Linked DNA regions of Homo sapiens: regions 2, 3, 4, 5 and 6 are each linked to region 1. Evidence: promoter capture Hi-C in 16 types of primary human blood cells and fetal thymus (Javierre and others, 2016). All regions are on one chromosome and are shown on one strand. The core of a region is centred on a gene start or on the middle of the fragment in contact, and the rest is flanking DNA. Distances in the headings are between cores, read along the strand shown.

Evidence for each region. The method cuts DNA at HindIII sites, captures the fragments that hold promoters and counts their contacts. A CHiCAGO score of 5 or more calls a contact.
Region 2: a contact is called between a fragment that was not itself captured here and the fragment with the promoter of ODAPH in region 1, in 8 of 17 cell types (total CD8 T cells, activated CD4 T cells, naive CD8 T cells and 5 more). The highest score is 7.6, in total CD8 T cells.
Region 3: a fragment that was not itself captured here is called in contact with the fragment with the promoter of ODAPH in region 1 in 2 of 17 cell types (neutrophils and activated CD4 T cells); the score reaches 5.5 in neutrophils.
Region 4: a fragment that was not itself captured here is called in contact with the fragment with the promoter of ODAPH in region 1 in 1 of 17 cell types (naive CD8 T cells); the score reaches 5.3 in naive CD8 T cells.
Region 5: a fragment that was not itself captured here is called in contact with the fragment with the promoter of ODAPH in region 1 in 2 of 17 cell types (naive CD8 T cells and total CD8 T cells); the score reaches 5.7 in naive CD8 T cells.
Region 6: a contact is called between a fragment that was not itself captured here and the fragment with the promoter of ODAPH in region 1, in 6 of 17 cell types (total CD8 T cells, naive CD8 T cells, activated CD4 T cells and 3 more). The highest score is 6.9, in total CD8 T cells.

Annotation. Positions count from the first base shown.
Region 1 is chr4:75,554,779-75,557,409 of GRCh38, reverse strand. ODAPH (odontogenesis associated phosphoprotein) reads right to left here and starts at 1,344. Exons shown (of 2, transcript NM_178497.5): 1 at 1,261-1,344. The coding sequence starts at 1,327. RefSeq lists a silencer at 1,317-1,611. The HindIII fragment of the contact is 3,725 bases long and covers 1-1,508 here.
Region 2 is chr4:75,800,318-75,802,948 of GRCh38, reverse strand. It overlaps USO1 (USO1 vesicle transport factor), which reads right to left. Exons shown (of 24, transcript NM_003715.4): 15 at 2,480-2,598; 16 at 2,150-2,331; 17 at 1,749-1,870. Among named protein-coding and RNA genes, the nearest start is that of USO1, 77 kb to the right of the region's middle. The HindIII fragment of the contact is 1,119 bases long and covers 767-1,885 here.
Region 3 is chr4:75,780,084-75,782,714 of GRCh38, reverse strand. It overlaps USO1 (USO1 vesicle transport factor), which reads right to left. Exons shown (of 24, transcript NM_003715.4): 9 at 1-35. Among named protein-coding and RNA genes, the nearest start is that of USO1, 57 kb to the right of the region's middle. The HindIII fragment of the contact is 4,054 bases long and covers 1-2,631 here.
Region 4 is chr4:75,762,860-75,765,490 of GRCh38, reverse strand. The region is part of intron 4 of USO1 (USO1 vesicle transport factor); the gene reads right to left. Among named protein-coding and RNA genes, the nearest start is that of USO1, 40 kb to the right of the region's middle. The HindIII fragment of the contact is 431 bases long and covers 1,129-1,559 here.
Region 5 is chr4:75,727,397-75,730,027 of GRCh38, reverse strand. The region is part of intron 1 of USO1 (USO1 vesicle transport factor); the gene reads right to left. Among named protein-coding and RNA genes, the nearest start is that of USO1, 4.1 kb to the right of the region's middle. The HindIII fragment of the contact is 1,129 bases long and covers 737-1,865 here.
Region 6 is chr4:75,707,537-75,710,167 of GRCh38, reverse strand. It overlaps a transcript of G3BP2 not described here. Among named protein-coding and RNA genes, the nearest start is that of USO1, 16 kb to the left of the region's middle. The HindIII fragment of the contact is 6,765 bases long and covers 1-2,631 here.

The sequences.
Region 1 (2,631 bases), core at 95-2,594:
CCTCGGCCTCCCAAAATGCTGGGATTACAGGTGTGAGCCACTGTACCCAGCCTCAGTGGGTGTTTTTAAGATGTGAATAAAATAAATCTCTAATCTCATTATAACTTGTTTAGCTATGTGTTTACAAAGCCTCCTGAAGAGCGGTTCACTTTTTGCAGAGAAAGTGGCAGGTGGCTAGTTTTGTTTTATGATGCTTCTTTTAGATGTCACTTTTAGTAGGTGAGGCTTGGGGGCCTTGCCTTGGGATATGGGGGCAGGTTTTGTTCATAATCTATGCCCTGTCCCCTGATTGCCAGAGTGTGTGCAGAGGTTGGATCAGGGGGTTTCTGAGTGTTCCACAACCAGCTCTTATGTCTCTCCCCTCCTCCTGTCTATTGTGAGCTCTGAGGGATGGGAACGGGGAATCTGTCTGGGGATGAGCAGGGTTTGGCTGAGCCCCTGCAAAGCCCCCTACCCAAGACATGTGAAAGGGGTGAAGTGCTCTGTTTGACTCCTAGGTCCATCTTCCGTAAACAGCATCTAGTTTTGGAATTAAAATAAACTGAAGAAAAGGTTAGATCTAGGCTCCCCAAGATTTCCTCCCCTTGTATTTCCCTCTTTTCATCCCTTCCCCAGCCTTTTCTTTCCTTTTCCTAGGGGTTTGCAAACCAATTGTAAGGCTCAGGACACATTTTGTAGTGGGAACAAAGAAAGAGAATAGGAACAGTTGAGAAATGGAATCTAATAAAATCCTAAAGAAAGAAACCTGTGCCCACCTCTGTGGCACCAAAATGCAGCTCAATAGATGTGATTAATTAAAGCAATGAACAAAGACTAAATACCCACCATGTGCAAATTAATATGCTGCTGGAGATAGAAAGTGGACAGTGCTGTAATTCAAAGTGGAATTGTTAGCTTTGTAACCATAATAACTAGTATTTGTACAGTGTTTTTAGCTTGAAGAGTTTTTCACAGATGATAGCTCATTTGGTCCTTGCAAACCCCATAACGATGGATATTGTTAATGTTGTCACTTCACATATGAGGAATCTGATACTCAGAGATTTTAAGTGTGTCTAAAGTCACAGAGCTATTGCTGAGACGAGGACCAAGGTCTTCAGGTGACAAAATCCAACTTCCTTCTCTTTAACCACACAGGCTGATGGAAGCTGAGGTAAATATTTCCAATTTATGGGAACGTATAATCATGGAGCCAGTTTTGTCTTTTCCTACAACTTATTAATTAGTGGACCCACAGTAGAATAAAAGCAAAACCCTTACCTTCTGCCACAGTTACCACCAACCAGCATACCAGTAACCAGTAGGAGAAGCAGTGTCTGCGAGCCATGGCTTCTACTGAGCAGTCACTGCGTTGAACCTGATGTTGCTTTAAAGGGGAGCTGGTGAGTCACCAGCAGCCTGATTCAGGTAATTTGCATTTGCACAGTGGACCACAGAGATCAGGGCTTGCGGTGTGAGGGTAAGAAATCAGCAAGGAAATACCAGACAGTATTTGTCAACCAGAAGCTTCTTGGAATGACAGCCAGATATCAATCATCTCCCCCCAGAGGGGGATTTTGGACAACCGCACCTTCACCATCCTTCTAATCTCTCAAATCTTCTCCCATGTTAGTGCCTTTTAGTTGTGTATATCAGTCTTCCTCTGCAAGAGAAATAAGCTGTCCAGAAATATGCAACAGTGCTTCTCTCTGTGCAGCTTACCTACTTAAAAAGCGAAACAAGAGGGAGAGGGCATTACCCGGAGGCTTCCTGACCCCGGTGGTTTGCAGTGGAGAGTTGGGGATCATTCTTAGGCCCCCAACCAGGGTTTATGCTGCTTCTCTGCTCTGCTTTTGTCCAGGAGGTGAGGGCAGCAGAATCAGAAAGTGATCTTCCCTAGTGGTCATGATGGTCACTGTCTAAACAAACATAAACATTGGGAGAGTAACTTAGTGAGTCGTCCTTTCACGGCTCCTCCTGATTCACCATATTGCATATAAAATGGACATGACATGTCTATGTCCAGTTGGTTTCCTGAGAGAAAGACTTCATCAGCTGCTGGATATATGAGAGGGGATTGTCACAGGTGATTAAGAACATGGACCTTGGAGTCAGGTAAAATTCCAGTCTTTGTTCCTTTTCTTACTAGCTGAGTGACTGTGGTGAGTCCCTGAGACTTGCTGAAGCCTCAGGGGCCTCACCTGTAAAATGGGACTTGTGGTACTACCCTCAGAGGAATTTGTGAATTAAGGAGATGCTTTTAAAAAAAATTTTTTTTAAATTTCAATCTTTTGGGGTACGAGTGGTTTTGGGTTACATGGATGGACTCTATGGTGGCGAACTCTGAGATTTTAGTGCACTCGTCACCCGAGCAGTGTACACTGCACCCAATATGTAGTCTTTTATCCCTCACCTCCTTCCCAACCTCCCCCACCCCTAGCCTCTAAAGTCCATTATATCATTCTGTATGTCTTTGTGTCCTCATAGCTCAGCTCCCACGTATAAGTGAGAACATACGATATTTGGTTTTCCATTCCTGAGTTACTTAACTTGGAATAATGGCCTCCAGCTCCATCCAAGTTGCTGCAAAAGACATTATTTCATTTTTTTATGGCTGAGTAGTATTCCATGGTGTATTTCTACCACATTTTC
Region 2 (2,631 bases), core at 77-2,576, 250 kb before region 1:
CCATCCCCAGCTAATTTTTTGTATTTTTAGTAGAGACAGGGTTTCTCCATGTTGGTCAGATTGGTCTCGAACTCCCGACCTCAGGTAATCTGCCCACCTTGGCCTCCCAAAGTGCTGGGATTACAGGCATGAGGCACCGTGCTCAGCCACTGCACTCCAGCCTGGGCAACAAGAGCGAAACTGTCTCAAAAAAAAAAAAAAAAAAAAAAAAAGAAAAGAAAAAGAAAAATGGAAAGCAACCTCAGCATCAAAAACACTGAATATAAATTGTATTGCATCTACTTAATATTGCTTTCCATTTTTCAAAGTGACAAATTTCATTACATTATATATTTTAGTCCATATAATTGTTTTCCTGAATTTTGGAGAATTCCCTTAGGATGAATTATCAAATGTCATTCAAAGGATATAAACATTTTATAGTTCTAGATGCTTGTGGACTAATGCCAAATAGCATTTTAAATGGTAAGAATATTTAAAATGAACATTTCTAAGGAAGTCATTAGAGTAATTGTGTCAATCACTCTTTTCTTTTGCCAAATCAACTGTATTTGCAGCCCCAAGTATAGACTCTATATCACATTACAACTATTTGTTTTTTTCACTGTTCCAAAGATATTATTACATTTTAGCAACTGGAAATGGCTCCATCTTTGTACCCAGATATAGATGAAAAATCCTAATAACCATAGGTAGTTTGATGATTCAAATTTTACCATTCTAAGATTATAATTTATTGATTGATTTACTTTTAAACTGAAAAGCTTAGAATGAATGCTAAATATACCACAATATTTTCATTCTTTCTTAAAATTTTAATCTCAGTAGGCTGGGCGCGCTGGCTTATGCCTATAATCCCAGCATTTCGGAAGGCTGAGGCAGGGAAGGGAAGGGATCACCCGAGGTCAGGAGATCAACACCAGCCAACATGGTGAAACCTCATCTCTACTAAAAATATAAAAATTAGGCAGCGTGGTGGCACACGCCTATAATCCCAGCTACTTGCGAGGCTGAGGCAAGAGAATTGCTTGAACCTGGGAGGCGGAGGTTGCAGTGAGCCGAGACTGCGCCACTGCACTCCAGCCTGGGAAACAAGAGCAAGACTCTGTCTAAACAAAAAACAAACTAATCTCAGTAATGTAGATTGTGAGGAAGAAAATAAGATATAAACAGTTGTCAATTTAAAGGGTTCTATCTATGCTTTTACTTGCCACACCTGCCATAAACTGTGCACAATTAGTAGACAGGTGTGGAGAGCAGTAGAGGGAAGGGGATGAATCTGTCCCACAGGGTCTGCCACTATTGTATTTTTTTATGACACTGGAATTTTAACAACATTAATAACCTCATTTTTCAGCACTTTCTAGAATTCCAATCAAGGTAAATATCATAAGAAATTAAATGAGAGTAAAAGTCAAGAAAACATTTTGAAGGAATATAATGAAGGTTTAGGGTACTCAACACAATGCAAGTAATGAAAGTTCACTGGTATCCTGGAAAGAAAATGTCAACTGATGATTCCGCAATTGTAGTTTCATCTTTATCCACTCATCATTATCTAATAAATCAGCTGCATGGTGCTTAGCACATATTAAGCACTCTGTTTGTTGAATACTCAGATGCTTTGAAAAATGATGGGTTTTGCTTTCTATATCCTCTTTCATTTGAAATGTCAGAAAAAAAGGCTCCCTTAAAGCAGAAAGTGCCTATTGGTAATCAGAGGGTATATACAGTTCATTAGTACTTACCTGCTCTCGAATCATATTTTTGTAGTGAGTCACAATATTGTCATGCTGTTCTAATGTTTTTTTCACCTCTTCTTCTTTTTTATCTTCTTCACTGGACTTATAAATAGCCTTAGTTATAACACCTATAAAAGGAAGCTTATTTAAAATTTGTTTTAAATGTTTTAAATACTATTTTACTACTAAGACTTAGTAAAAACATATAACCTAACTCCATGATAGGTAAGAAATAATCTTTTCAATCCTACTGAAAGCCAAATGTCCTTCAATGGGCTACAGATCAAGAGCTAGGAAGAAAATATACCTTTAGAGTTACCATATAACCTGTATGCATCCAGAATATACATGTACAATATAAATATAATTACTTTCCATCAAATATCAATATAAATCTTCAGTCTTACCTTCAAGTTCTTTTACCAGCTTCGTAAACTCATGATCAAATATCATGTATTCTGGACTGGGAAAGTTTGGCTGGGGTTTCTGAGATGCTCTGGAATACAACTCATGTTTGCTAATAAATCCTAGTTTCTCTATGAAATTCTCTTTGCCAATCCTCTTCTCAATCAGTTGTTTTAGCTTCTCTCTACGGAGATAAGCATATTGAGATGCTTTAAAAAAAATAAAATCAAAACAAAACATAAAAGCTTGGTCTACATAATGCTTTGGCAAAAAAAAAAAAAAAGCATCATTATCTCTTGATGCCATTAGAAAACCATCTTCCCCTTACTTACTTCATGTAGCTCTCAAGTGAGTTATCATTGAAATAAATCGAAATGCCCAACAAAAGGGCACATAAGCCTTGGACCAACTGCTCTTCTTCTCCAAGATTTTCTGCAATTTGTCCTGTAAGCTGAAATCTTTGTTAAGGAGGCTAAGGATTGAA
Region 3 (2,631 bases), core at 86-2,585, 230 kb before region 1:
TTGGAGCAAAATCAAACAATCTTCAACTACTATACCTGGGGAAATAATGTAAAACACAAGCGTTAAGGCTCGTAAAACCTGACGCAAAACTCCCAAACATTTTTAAAAAGATAAATCTCCATGCTCAGCATCTCTTCAATATGGCCAGGCAGATAGACAGTCTGCTCTGACACCTGATGGCCACAGGCCATAACCTGCATGCTCTTTCTCAGGTACCCCAAAGATCTCTTGACTTCTATGTCAAGTAACCAATCGCCTTAGTAACTCATTGTTTATCTTCAAATCCCAGCTTAAACATCATTTCTTCAGGAATGATTACCAAGACTACAGGACTAGGTTAGCGTCACCAGCTACATGCTCTTACAGTAGCCTTCTCCTTTTATTATTAGGTAGTGTTTGTCTTCTCCACTAGATTATAATTCACAAACGCTTGTGAACAGTCTACTTACCTCTGTATCTTTAGCAGAGACAGAGACATGATATCATGTATATACACAGTACTTAACTATTAAACATTTGTTGAATGAATCAACCATATCTTATTTGATCTCTAAGAAGCTCTTAACATTGTCGGTTTGTCTCTTCCTTGAAACTTCCCTTGATTTCTAAAACATTATGCTCTCTTGATTTTCCTTACAGCTCTGCAGGTGCTCAATCTTTCATTGTTTCTGTCCTCCATGGTTTTATCCTTTTTCTTCTTTGTTTACAGCATATACTCTCCAGGGCAGTTTCATCCACACTACAGCTTTCACTATTATCACAGTGAAAACTCTCCAATTGATCTCTACTTTACCAAGTACTAATAGATTAACCAATAGCCTCCGTTTCTTCTGATAAACATATTGACTGATGCTGGATGCTGTACGTAACGACAAGTAAGCTCATCTGGTACATCAACACTTTTATTCCTAATAGTTGAGCTGTATGTTGACAAAAATAAATTATTTTTTTTTTAAAAAGACATCATTTTTTAGAGCAGTTTTAGGCTTATAGAAAAAGTAAGTACAAATAGAGTTTCTCTACACAGACATCTACTTATTGGTTCTAGACTTCTGCAATAAAGCAAGTATCACAATCAAGTCAGTCCCACAAATTTTTTGGTTTCTTAGTGTATACAAAAGTTACATTTACACTATAATGTAATTTATTAAGTGTGCAATAGCATCATGTCCAAAGAATGTACATAACTTAATTTAAAAATATTTCATTGCTAAAAAAATGCTAATGACCACCTGAGTCTTCAGTGAGTCATTTTACTTCCAGTAGAAATTCTTTCAAAACTGGAGTCAATTCTCTCAAACCCTGACACTGCTTTATCAACTAAGTTGATGTAATATTCTAAATCCTTTGTTGTCATTTCACCAATGTTCACAGCATCTTCACCACCTTCTTTGCTCATCCATAAGTAATAACCCCTCATCTGTTGAAGTTTGATCATGAGATTGCAAAAATTCAATCACATTTTCAGGCTCCACTTCTAATTCTCCTGTTATTTATACCACATCTTCAGTTGGTTCCTCCACTAAAGTCTTGAACCCCTCCAAGTCATCCATGAGGGTTGCCGGAATCAACTTCTTCCAAACTCCTGTAAATCTTGGTATTTTGACTTCCCATGAATTACAAATGTTCTTAATGGTATCTAGAATGGCAAATCGTTTCCAGAAAGTTTTCAATTTACTTTGCCCAGATGCGTTACAGAAATCACTATCTATGTAGCTATAGCCTTATGAAATGTATTTCTTAAATATTAAGACTTGAAAGTCAAAATTGCTGGGTGCAGTGACTCACACCTGTAATCCCAGCACTTTGGGAGGCTGAGGTGGATGGATCACTTGAGGTCAGGAGTTCAAGGCCAGCCTGGCCAACATGGTGAAACCCTGTCTCTAATAAATTACAAAAATTAGCTGGGCATGGTGGTGCATACCTGTAATCCCAGCTACTCACGAGGCTGAGGTACGAGAATTGCTTGAACCTGGGAGGCAGAGGCTGCAATGAGCCGAGATTGTACCACTGCATTCCAGCCTGGGGGACAGAGTGAGACTCCATCTCAAAAAAAAAAAAAAAAAAAAAAAAAGTCAAAATTTATCCTTGATCCATGGGCTGCAAAATGCATGTTGTGTTAACAGTATGAAAACAATATTATTGGCTGGGCACAGTGGCTCACGTCTGTAATCCCAGCACTTTGGGAGGCCACGTGGGCGAATCATGAGGTCAGGAGTTCAAGATCAGCCTGGCCAACATAGTGAAGCCCCATCTCTACTAAAAAAAAAAATACAAAAAATTAGCCGGGCACAGTAGTGGGTGCCTGTAATGTTAGCTACTCAGGAGGCTGAGGCAGGAGAATTGCTTGAACCTAGGAGGCAGAGGTGGCAGTGAGCCGAGATCACACCACTACACACCAGCCCAAGTGACAGTGCGAGACTCCATCTCAAAAAAAAAGAAAACAGTATTATTCTCTTTTTACATCTCCATCAGAGCTCTTGCGTGATCAGGTGCATTGTCAATGAGAAGTAATATTTTGAAAATCGTTTTTTCTAATGCACTGGGCCTAGAAAACCATGCTCTTACACAGAAGTGTAAGAGATGTGTGTTCAGTAAATGTGTGCTCAGTAAATCATGCTATTACATAGA
Region 4 (2,631 bases), core at 95-2,594, 210 kb before region 1:
TTAGAATCAGCTATGAACAGAAGTCCTGATTCCCACAGTATGGTAAATGTTACATACCCAATAAAATCTCACAAGAGCTGGTGGGCTAATGAGCCTACCTTGTTTTTTAAGCCACCCCAGAACCCTAACAAATCATGGAGATGTTAGCCAAATTCTAGTGAAACTGTATAGATAAAAAAGCAGATAAAGAAATTATACAAAAAGGGCCCATTGGGAATGCATGTCAAATAAATTATTCTCCAAATACATGAGAAATCTATGTTCAAAAGACAAGTAATATTCTCTCAGAATTGTCTCCCTCAAGAAATTAAAATCACAGCAATATTAACTTAGTCATGGGTGCTTTGTAGGGCTAGTTTCCATTTGCATATATTCATATTTGTTGAATGAGATATATAACTTTAAAAATCATGCGTTTGAAAGTAATTTATAGCATAATTATTTTTTATCTCAGTGGTGTGAAGATAGCAGAGAATGAAAACTTGACTACAAACAAAAGACAGTAATGTGAGTGAGTGAAGCAGGCTAACATTAGAGGATGGGGAGTATATGCTCTGTCTAAGGAAAACAGCAGTTACTCAACTCCAGCTGCCTGTTGCCATGTAGGAATGCAGATCCAGGTATTGCCAATCTTCAGGTTTTTTCAAAAAGAAGTCTAAAATACAAACGTTGACACAAGCTCCCAATTTATAATAGTGGCAACTTATTCACCTTACTTAAAATACTATGTGGGTCAAACAGCCTTGCTTACAAGATAGACAATGCCCTTGGGCCAAAAGTTTGTGACCTCATGAGAAAAGCTAAAAATTATAGTTATTGACATTTGGGAAAACATTAAAAATTATAAACTAATCTAAAAAGGAAGAAAAAAAACCACATATAGACTTGATGGATTCTTCCCCTAAAATGTATTTTAAAATGTTGAAATATTTTTACATATGTAAACATAAACAACTAACCAAGCCTTGGTTAGTATATTTCAAAACAAAGGATAGTGTGGCATGTTAATAGGTACATGGCAGAACTAAGCCCCTGTGGACAAATATATTTGGATTAAACAAAGTTGAACAAGATTTTTCACTGCAGGCTTCTCAGCACTTACTACACCAGTGTAAATTTTATGAAGCTTCAGAGGGGAATATAGTATTTATGTTTATTTAACTATGAACCCGTTTTAATACAGAACACTCTCTAGAACTTCTGTGCTATGCTTTAAGGAAGTCAGGTCTAATACCAGAAAAAGTTTAATTCAGTGTTTGCACTGGGCACAAGCAAATAACTTAGGAAGAAGTAGAGTTAATATCTTTAATTTATTCTGTAGCTATATTGTATAATATGCTGTAGCTTATCAGTATAGAATTAAAATTTACATTTTGAACTGAACTAGTAAAATATGGTCCTATTACAAGGATCAATGGTTCCTTCTGGTTTAACACTGTCAATTTGAAAAAGTGTGAGATATACGCCATTTCTTTTAAGTTACAGTCATAAGACAGCACTTCTGAACTTTAATGAAGTATCCCCAAATTAGCTAAGCAATTAAGGTAATACACAAAGCTTTAAGTGTAGCAGTAAATTAAGCTACAAACTACTATAAACTACTACACTAATATCTAAAAGTTGTGAACAAAAACTAGAACCATGAGAAATTATACCAATTATACGTGTAAGCAAAGGCATGAAACAAGTAAACCATCTTCTCTCATCATTAATCATTAGATTACAACCTTTATAGCTAAGTTTTTTATAGCCTATAGTTTATATATTATATTGTGCATTTATAACCTGTAAATGACCATTTATTGTAAGGTAAATGAAAAAAATAAGATAAAAATGAAATGGCCCTTTGTTACCATAGTAAAAATAAATTTAATATAGGAATGTAAAATAAAAAAATGCCCGTTCTAAGTACTTACACAGATGCTCCTCAATTTACAATGGGGTTATGTCCTGATAAGCCCATCAAAAACTGAAAATATCATAGGTTGAAAATGTATTTAATATGTTTAACCTACTTTAAATGTGCCCAGAACACTTACATTATCCTACAGCTAGGCAAAATATAACAGAAATCATATTTTATAATAAAGTATTATCTCATGTAATTTACTGAATACTGTACTGAAGGTGAAAAAACAGAATGGTTGTATGGGTATTCGAAGTATAGATTCTACTGAATGTATATTGCTTTCACACCATCGTAAATCAAAAAATCGTGAAGTTGAACCATCATCTGTCTGTATAGCTCTGGATAGTTTTCAGGCCTGTTTATATGGCTGGCATTTAAGTACGCATGCATAGATATATTTACTCTTCAAATGTATTTCTAGTAGTACTTTTTCCAGAGGTGTAAACAATATTTAAAAACATTTCTGGATCTTCTCTTTGGAATTCTATTCTATACTAAGTTCACAATCTATATTATGAAGAAAAGAAATTGCTTTATAAAAGGAGATATCCTAATAAAATCAGTCCTCAGAGTGAAGAAATATCAAATAATCTTCGTTTATACTGGTAGTTAATTAAACAGGTACATGTATACTTTTTTTGTTGTTTTTGTTTTGAGACGGAGTCTCGCACTGTCGCCCAGTCTGGAGTGCAGTGGCACGATCTCTGCTCACTGCAAGCTCC
Region 5 (2,631 bases), core at 52-2,551, 170 kb before region 1:
CCTGGTTATTAATGTAGAATACATCAACCCAAATAGGAATTTCAGACTACACATTTATAGTAACATGGTATAAAATGTGCTTGACTAAACGAAAACTATGTCTAAATTTAAGTCCACACTCTTTAATAACAATTTTTATTAAAAGAAAATATGGCTGTGTTTATATTGTTAGCCCTTCTGCTTTCTGAGACAGCTGATGAAAGTTTGATCTGGAAAGAGACCCCATAACAATGTTCTAATTCTGTATGCTTTTTCTGGACATTAGCAACTTTCATGTCTCGGGGTCCAACTTGAGAACAGAAAATGCCTCTATGATTCATCATCAAATGTAGTTAACACTTGCTTGGAATTTTCAAGAAACTAGCTTTAAAAAAGGTACAAGTTGGGGGCTGGGCGCAGTGGCTCACGCCTATAATCCTAGCACTTTGAGAGGCCGAGGCGGGCAGACTGCCTGAGCTCAGGAGTTCAAGACCAGCCTGGGCATCACAGTGCAACCCTGTCTCTACTAAAATACAAAAAAATTAGCCTGGCGTGGTGGCGTGCACCTGTAGTCCCAGCTGCTCGGGAGACTGAGCCAGGAGAACTGCTTGAACCCAGGAGGCGGAGGCTGCAGTGAGCCGAGATTACGTCACTGCACTCCAGCCTGGGCGACAGAGCGAGACTTCGTACCCCACCCCCCTACCCAAAAAAAAGGTGCTAGATAGAAGGCAGATATAACACTAAGCACACATAAGCTTACATTCAAAAGCATGAAGTCCCTGGTGGTCTAGTGGTTAGGGAAAAAGAGAAAACTAAAAAACAAAAGCATGAGTAGGATTTGTACTATAATAATATGCACCCAGCAAACTGTGTCAAGGCTAAAGAGGCTTCAATCACCAGAAATCAGTGTCAAGTAAAAAAGAGAAATGAAATGTAAAAGTACCCGACTCTGGGGCCAGGTGCCGTGGCTCACACCTGTAATTCCAGCACTTTGGGAGGCCAAGGCAGGCGGATCACGAAGTCAGGAGATCGAGACCATCCTGGTTAACACGGTGAAACCCCATCTCCACTAAAAATACAAAAATTAGCCGGTGTGGTGGCAGACACCTGTAGTCCCAGCTACTTGGGAGGCTGAGGCAGAAGAATGGCGTGAACCCGGGAGGGGGAGCTTGCAGTGAGCCAAGATTGCGCCACTGCACTCCAGCCTGGGCCACAGAGCGAGACTCTGTCTCAAAACAAAACAAAACAAAAACAAAAACAAAAGTACATGACTCTAAAACAGAAAAAGTTTAATGTGGATGAAATTCTGAATTTAAAATATCCAGTACTTTATAGAATTGACTATCCTATGATAAAATATTTACTACTTGACAGGTTCTCAAGAACATCTTTCTTTTTGAGACAGTCTCGCTCTCTCGCCCAGGCTGGAATGCAGTGGCACAATCTTAACCACTCAGTGGTTGCTCACTGCCAACCACCGCCTCGATTCTCCTGCCTCAGCCTCCTGAGTAGCTGAGATTATAGGCATGTGCCACCATGCCCAGCTAATTTTTGTATTTTTAGTAGAGACAGGGTTTCACCATAAAAATGTGCTTGACTCCAGAAAGGAGTTTGGCCAGGCTGGTCTCAAACTCCTGACCTCAAGTGCTCCATCTGCCTTGGCCTCCCAAAGTGCTGGGATTATAGGCGTGAGCCCCCGGCCTGAAGAACATCTTAATATCAGTCCAAAGTTACTCTTAACTAAGAGTATGAAAAGCTAGATACTATACAATCAATCACATAACTCTCACACATTTAAAAGATACTTAAATTCAATAAGAAAAAAAAAAACAAGAAAGCAGTCAAAGCATTTAGTAAATATGAAAAAATCCCTTAAGTAAAAAGCTTGACACAATGAACTTCATTTGAGAACTTCAGTTTCTAGTCTTTAAAAAGTGTTTTAGTACCTAGTAACGTAAGTTGCTATAATTACAGATCTGTGATTTCTTTCAAATAAAACTATAATTAATTCATTTCACAAGTATTTACTGGGCATCTACTACTGTGGAAAAACAAAGATTAAAATACATTATGAACCCTGCCCTAAAGACACTTTAAGAGTCTAGAAGGAATAAGATATATGCACACTGTAGTTAAAATGTAAAGGTAGCTCAGAAAGGAAAAAGCATCTGAAACGTGCTGGGGGAAAGTACAGATTAGGGGAGGCGCTGATGATGAATTTAAATAACAGGTCTAATTCAGACAAAGAAAAGAGCCCTTCCATTGGAAAAAAGATGTTAGAAAAAGCAAGAAAGATGGAAAGCCACCATGAAAAAAATTTAATTTTGCAGAAATGGAAAAAACTACAAAATAATAAATGATAATATAGAAGCTAGGGGTTCCAAGCTCTGGTAACTCAAATATCCTGGCCAGACTAAATCATCAATTAAAACATCTAAAATTGTATATACACTCCACTGATGCTCTATAAATACTTCTAAATTAGTAATCCATGACCCCTTTTACCTGTTGTACTTCCTGGTGGAACGAAATAGTGAAACAAATTTTATTCATACTGTACCTCAGAATAATAATTTTCAGAAGGCAAATTGCTTTATTGTGGAGGTGATTAAAAAGAAAAAATAGAAGACAAATTACTTTTCCAATTTTAAA
Region 6 (2,631 bases), core at 48-2,547, 150 kb before region 1:
AACATAGTGAGACTCTGTCCCTAGAAAAAATAAAGCAGTCCAAACACATCCCACACCTTGTCATTTATAGAAGGTATCATTAACATTCAGTAATAGCTTGGTACCTAGCACATTACATTACCTAGTATGTGGTCATATGTTCAATAAGCTCTTTTTTCCCATTAAATGGAATTAGCTGACCTTAGTCTATACCCTTTCAATAAATTCAAGCCAAGGGCCATCAGAGCTGGTCTATTCTTACCCAAGTGAGGACCCAGAGTGAGTTGATGGAGTTGAAGGGAACAGGTTAGCAACCCTTGGAATAGATGATACTGTAAAAAACTGCATTATTTGAGCTGGGTGCAGTGATGTGTGCCTGTAGTCCTAGCTACTCCAGAGGCTGAGGTGGAAGGATCCCTTGAGCCCAGGAGTTAGAGTCCAGCCTGGGCAACATAATGAGACACGACCCCCTAACCCCATCTCTGAAACCCGCCCCACCACACACACACAACTGCATTCTTTAAATAAAAATGAAACCACAAATCAATCCTTCCTTCCTTCCTTTTTCTTTCTTTCTGAGATAGAGTCTTGCTCTGTTGCCCAGGCTGGAGTGCAGTGGCATGATCATGGCTCACTACAGCCTCTACCTCCTGGGCTCCAGCAATCGTTGTACCTCAGCCTACAGAGTAGTTGAGACTATAGGCATGTGCTACTACACCTGGCTGGTCGGTTTTTTTCGTAGTAGGTTTTTTTTTTTTTTTTTTTTTTTGAGACGGAGTCTCACCCTGTTGCCCAGGCTGGAGTGTGGTGGTGCAATCTCAGCTCACTGCAACCTCTGCCTCCAGGGTTCAAGCGATTCTCCTTCCTCAGCCTCCTGAGTAGCTGAGATTACAGGGGCCAACCACCGCACCTGGCTAATTTTTGTATTTTTAGTAGAGATAGGGTTTCACCATCTTGGCCGGGCTGGCCTCTAACTCCTGACCTTGTGATCCCCCTGCCTCAGCCTCCCAAAGTGCTGGGATTACAGGTGTGAGCCACCATGCCCTGCCTGGCTGGTTGTTTTGTTGTTGTTGTTATTGTTTCAGACAAGTTCTCTCTGTTGCCCAGGCTGGAGTGCAGTGACTGGTTATGACTCACTTTAGCTCCCAACTCCTGGACTCAGGTTATTCTCCCACCTCGGCCTCCCAAGTACCTGAAACTACAAGTGTGCGCCACCATGCCTGGCTATTTTTTTGTATTTTTTATAGACAGGGTTTCACCATGTTGCCCAGGCTGTTCTTGAATTCCTGGGCTCAAGCAGTCCTCCTGCCTTGGCTTCCCAAAGTACTGGGATTACAGGCATGAGCCACTGTGCCTGGACCCAGCTATTTTTGTTTTTTATTTTTGTAGAGAGTCTCACTCTGCTGCCCAGGCTGATCTCAAACTCCTCAGTGCAAGCGATCCTCCTGCCTTGGCCTCCCAAAGTGCTGGGACTACAGGCATGAGCCACCATGCCCAGCCCAAACTTTGTAACTTAATGGAGAAGATCCCAGTGGAGAGGTTCAACCGGACCATATTATCATTATTGTATTCCCCAAGATGTATGGACCATCTCCTCAGGTCTCACAAATTACTGCTTCCACCAGCATAATTGCCTCTAGGAGGCACTGCTTCCCCCTTTAAGGCTGTGGACCAGTTGCTGTGAATTATTATCTAGTCTACAGCTGAGCTGGGTTCTAGCTGCTAGGAGAAATAAATTCTATGAGTGAGAGTGACGTCAATCAAGATCATGTGGCTTATAGAATTTGTTTACCCTCTGCAGCTCACGGGGATCCCTGTCTTCCTAGGTCTTGGGCTATTCATGCATACTGGGCCCTCTTTACTCCCAGCATCCAAGGAATCATTAGCCAGGCTTGATGGTAGGGGCTAGAGTAGAACAAAACATGTTTGCCAAGTTCTTTGTAAGAGCCAAGTCTAGTGGGGAAGAAGGGTATTCACCTAGATTCCTCAAGACTAGGCCAAGAGACAGGGCAAGGAAAAGGTCCTGACAGCCTTCTTAACACCTTCCCTGACAGTTCCTAGTTTTCTGGTTTGAAATTGAAAAGGGTACTTCCCTAAGGCAATACCTATCCCTCTAGCAGAGGGCAACCATTTCAGCACACAGCACAGTAAGTAACACTTTGTCGATGCACATAGTTGGTTATAGAGGGTCTGTTAATTACATATACATGGAATTTACTATGAAATAAATCTCATTTTATGTATATATTGGCTGAAAAGCAGGTCATTTGTAGTAACAGTAGTTTAAAAAACCCAATGAGTTAATTAAATTAATGTTTACATTTTTATTCTGAAAATTAATGTGTAATATTGAATAATATATTCTGCTTTCAGTAAATCCAGTTCTGCTCTAAGTAAATGCCACAAAGTTTGAAAAATGCAAGTTCATTTTAATTTCATAAAATTTATCTTTGACAGGACTAAGGCCCAATCAACATTTTTCTACATTGATTTGTTAAACCACCGGATTATAATAAAGCTAACCATTAATGATCCTTTATAGCAAAAACTTAAAAACTGATAATTGTCTTTTTTTTTTTTTTTTTGAGTCTCGCTCTGTCACCCAGGCTGGAGTGCAGTGGCGCAGTCTCGGCTCACTGCAACCTCCGCCTC